Regions from separate parts of the Homo sapiens genome. Here region 2 is linked to region 1. Evidence: promoter capture Hi-C in 16 types of primary human blood cells and fetal thymus (Javierre and others, 2016). All regions are on one chromosome and are shown on one strand. Each heading gives the region's core, a stretch centred on a gene start or on the middle of the fragment in contact. The rest is flanking DNA. Distances are from core to core; before and after follow the strand shown.

Region 1 (2,518 bases), core at 8-2,507:
AGTGGGGTGGTTCACGCCAGTAATCCTAGCACTTTGGGAGACTGAGGCGGGAGCATTGCCTGAGCCCAGGAGTTCGAGACCAGTGTGGGCAACATGACGAAATCCCGTCTCAACAAAAAATACAAAAATTAGCCGGGCGTGGTGGTGCACGCCTGTAGTCTCCGCTCCTCAGGAGGCTGAGGTGAGAGGACCGCTTGAATCCAGGAAGCGGAGGCTGCAGTGAGCCGACATGGCGCCCCTGCACTCCCACCTGGGCACCAGAGCAAGACTCTGTCTGAAAACAAAACAAAACAAAACAAAACCAAGCAAAAACAAAAACAAAAAACAACAACAAAAAACCTCTGTGAAAGTCTGAGTCATTCCTCATTCCTCGCCCCCCCATACCCCGCCTCACCAAAAAGAGAACAGCTGAAAAAGGATAAGCTCGTCCCAGAAAGTCAGCATCAAGTATCTAATAAGCTTCGAAATCTCAAAATGTAACCCACGCGGGCACCCCGGGAGAGGCGGCGGGTACCACCCAAAGCACCCCCTCAGAACACCCGGAATTTGAGGCTGTGCCCCAGCCGCTATGCCAAAACGCTGAACAGGGCTGTGTTCCGCGGCTGCCCACCAGGGAAAACCAATAAATTCAAGAAAAAGTGCGGCCGCATAGATCTGTATCGCCGGAGCCCGGCGTCGCGAGCGCCGAGATTGTTTCCCAGCCACTCGAGGCTCCGGAAAGAACCGCGGGCCAGAGGGCAACCAGGCCCAGCCTCTTGACGCACTCTCGGCACAAGCCCAAGTCACCCCAACCCTGAGCCACCAAGAGCCACGGAGACGCCATGAGCCTCAGGATCACCTCACGTCTCCGGGACATCTTGAGCCCCTGAGACGACCTGAACCCTGGGCCATCTCGGTCCACCACGCCAAATTTCCCACCGGCGCGCTGAGCAATCGGCGGCAGATGGCCAATACCCAGAGGCCGCCCCCCGACACGCCCCGGTCAATGACTAGCCAATCCTGCCGCCCCTGAATGGCCACCTAAGTGGGTGCCATCCAGACTCTTGACAGAACTTGAGGCCCAAGCTAGCGGGCCAGTTGAGGCGAGGTCACTTTACCCTGTTCCTGGGTCCTCTCTGACATCGTGAGATGGCGGGGTCTGGCTCTGAGGCCCGAGACCTGAGGCCCGAGACCTGAGGCCTACGTCTGCGCCGCGGCTCTGAGGTAACTGCTTGGTAACTGTGTGGTAACTGCGTACACTCGTTGTCCGAGGCACAATGAGGCCCGGGCAGGAGCCTGGACCACGTCTCCGCGGCTGCGCAGTAGCGCTTGGCATGCGTGCGTGACTCCTGGGGGTCAAAGGGCCTCGCCCTCTCCCCCACTTTTGACCTACTTTCTTAAAGAGTCCCTTTTACAAAAATATACATATGTATGTATATATATATTTGTACTATATATGTGTGTGTGAATATATGTAGATATAGATACAGAAGTAGAGATAGAGATAGAGATAATGAACTGGAAGCCAACAGTGTAATTCTGCTCGTCCCAAAACGCACATCATAAAAAAAAAGTCCAATGTAAGAGACTTTCTAAATCTTCCTGCGGGACTCTCAAAGGCAGCCCTTCCTTTGCCGCACTCGGGGAGAGCCGGGAGGGAGGCGATCCGCCACCAGCCAAATCAGGGCCTTTCCTCTTAACGACCACGCGGCAAGGGGGCCGGGCCCTCGCACACCTCGATGGCCTCCCCCACTCCAAAGGGACTCCGATTTCGCAGGATCTCCCAACTTCCGCCTCTGTTCCCAACACCCTACGTGTTTCTCTTCCTCCTCGTTCAGACCCTCTAGTGTTTTCCAGGTTGCTTCCTCATATCCGATACCGGCTTTGGGAACAAATCCGAAAACAAGCCAACTTTGAAAATGTGCCCCTAATAAATACCTAGCAACCCCTCCCCTCCTTCCTGCCCCCTCTAGTAGTCTGCAGTGTATTGTTTCCATCTTTGTGTCCCTGTGTACCGGATCTTTAAGCTCCTGCTTACAAGTGAGAAGATTCGGTATGTGGTTTTCTGTTTCTGTGTTAATTCACTTATGAGAAAGGCCTCCAGCTGTGTACATGCTGCTGCAAAGGACATGGTTTTGTTCTTTGTTATGGCTGCATAGTATTCCATGGTGTATATGTACCACATTTTCTTTATTCAGTCCACCATTGATGGGCACCTAGATTGATTCCATGTCTTTACTATTGTCTTCACATCTTTCAAAACCTCTCTCGGTACTACATCTGTTCGAATAATACCTCCATCAAGACACTTTCCTATAGCCCCCTGGTAAGAAGGATCCCACAGCAGGTAATCTTCACGTCCCTATTAGTATTTAAATTACTTTGCCTGACATTATAAATCCTCGTCAACATGCCTCTCTCCTAAGTTCCTGGAGGACAGCACCATGTCTTATTTATATTTGAACACCACCTCCCTCACAAGATTCTAAGAATTAAATGTTATAAAATAGAAAGCACCCAGTGCCTGGAATTTGGGATC
Region 2 (2,518 bases), core at 14-2,513, 520 kb before region 1:
ATGGTGATACCCTAGGTCCCCATCTCCCATTATTTCCTCCAAAAATGATATAGAACAAGAAGGGAAAAATAAAACTACACAGAAAAACACACCATCAGCATAACTTGAGGACAGAGAATTCCCAAACATCAAATTGACTGTTAAGTAAAAGAGAGAAAACACCAAGTCTCAGCATATTTCCTCCTGTTACAAGGTGAGGGAGGGCAGATTCAGAAAGCCACATGGAAGAAATGAACTAGCAGTGGGTCCTAAGATTGATCTAAAACCACCACCAGAAAAATTGTCTGCCCTAAGTCTGAAAAATACTACAGATTTTTTCAGATAGACACAAACTACAAAAAAGGGCCTAAAAGTATGCATATTTTACAGGAGCAGTTTTCTCTATATAAAGCTTCTGGGGGAGACAAAAGACAAACAGGAAGGGAAATCTGCCCTTCAGCAATTGGGAGTGAAGAAGAAAAGAGGCAAAAAGGAAATTTCTAGGACCCTGCAAGACAAAATAAAACCAAAAAATTCAAGGACACGCAGGAGTTGTATGTGTCCTTCAACTCCTGCCTCACCACCAAAACAAACAAATACACTAAAATATTTGAACTTCAACAAACTGACAGAAGATGGTGCCATTAAACTAGGGATCTTGTGAAACACACCAAAGCCACACAAATGAGTAAGAGATAGATTAGCAGATCCACATAGAGTGATTGCAAAAGGTCAATGAAAGAATATATGAAGCAAGGGTTTTATGTCCAACCATGCTGTTCATCAAGTATAGAAAAGCAATTTTCAACATACAGGAACTTAGAGAATTTTGCACCCATGAGTCCTTTATGAGGCATCTACCACAGGACAAGCTTCATCCAACCAAGGGATAATTGGGGAAATGTCAGCAAAAGGATGGGTAGCATACATTTTAATACATGTAAATGTAGATCTAAAACTAAAAGTACAGTGGAGATGAAGATAGAAAACTAAGGTGCAATTTTAAATGTTGTGACAACAGAGAATGATACAACTAAAAATGAGAGAAGGGAGAGGTAAAGAAGAAAATAGAATAAGCTAATTGATCACTGTCTAGGCAATAAGTGGCTGTTAAAGGATACCAATAAGAACTAGTTAACCAGATAGTAAAGGCTTGAATAATAAAACAGAGGACTAAGGACATTAAAATGGTATAAGAAAAAAGAAGACTACTAGCAAAAAAAAAAAAAATACAAATCTTCCTAAATACCAAAAAATTGTTTTATATAAACAGAGAAGACAACACATCTTACAGAGGAAGAAACATAACAAATATAACAAAATACACATAATTATAACATTTATCAGAGTTTAGTCATATCAATGAATATGAGTGAGCTTAATTTGCCTATTTAAAAACTTTTCAATTTGGCTCACAAAGCAAATCCAACTATATGCTCTATACATTAAACACACACAAGATTTTTATTTATTAATTAGGTCCTGATTATTTGAAAAAACATGACCAAGAAAAAGAGAGAGAAAACACAAATAAAATAAGCAATGACAGGAAAAAATACCACTGAAACAAAAGAAATTTTAAAAATTATAAGAGACTATTTTGCAGACCTCTGTGCAAATAAATTTGAAAACCTAGATGAAATGGATAATTTCCTAGAAGAGTAAAAATTGCCAGAATTGGCGTCATTAGAATTGGTAAGCTTAAACAGACTGATTTCCATGGGAGAACCAGAAGAAGTTATTAAGGAGCCATGCCACTAAAAAACATCAGGCCTAGATGGTTTCCCAGAGGAATTCTACTAAACCTTCAAAGTCCAGATGTTCCCAATGCTCTATAAATTGTTTACAAACATTGAAAATGAAGCAAAACTTCCCTATTATTTCTTTTATGGAGCAAGTATAACATTGACACCTGAACTGATAAAGACAGTCAGACCAATATCACTCATGATTATTGATTCAAAAATACTAAATTCAACATTAGCAAACAGAATATAACATCATATTATATTAGGAGATTAATATACTGTGACCAATGGGATTTATTCTAGGAATGGAAGGTTGGTTCAATATTAGGAAATCTATTAGTATCATATATCATATTAACAGATCTAGGAGGGGAAAACCCATATGGTTAGCTCCTTGGATACTGGCTAAGCCTTAAACAAAATTCAATATCTATTTTTAATTAGAAATGCCCCTAATGTTTCCATACATATGTATATATGTATGTATATATATCTAATGTTAGAGAAAACCCCATTTACAGCAATAACAAAGAAGACCAAATACTTAGGAATTAATTTACCAGAAATGTGTAAAACTTATATGAGAAAAACTTTAAAGCACTCCTTAAAGACACAACATTAGACTTTTTCAAATAGAAAGACATCCCCTGTTCTTGGATAGAATGATTCAACACTACAAACAAATCAGTTCTCTCTAAGTTACTTAATAAGTTTAACACAATTTCAATAAAAATACCAATAAGCTTTATTTTATGGAGTTAGATACTTATGGGAAAACAAACATATAAGAC

What was found. The method cuts DNA at HindIII sites, captures the fragments that hold promoters and counts their contacts. A CHiCAGO score of 5 or more calls a contact.
Region 2: a fragment that was not itself captured here is called in contact with the fragment with the promoter of BEND2 in region 1 in 3 of 17 cell types (non-activated CD4 T cells, activated CD4 T cells and naive CD4 T cells); the score reaches 5.9 in non-activated CD4 T cells.

The regions. Positions count from the first base shown.
Region 1 is chrX:18,219,629-18,222,146 of GRCh38, forward strand. It overlaps BEND2 (BEN domain containing 2), which reads right to left and starts at 1,258. Exons shown (of 14, transcript NM_153346.5): 1 at 1,098-1,258. The coding sequence starts at 1,122. The HindIII fragment of the contact is 8,313 bases long and covers 458-2,518 here.
Region 2 is chrX:17,696,734-17,699,251 of GRCh38, forward strand. All of the region lies in intron 3 of NHS (NHS actin remodeling regulator), which reads left to right. Among named protein-coding and RNA genes, the nearest start is that of SCML1, 40 kb to the right of the region's middle. The HindIII fragment of the contact is 828 bases long and covers 850-1,677 here.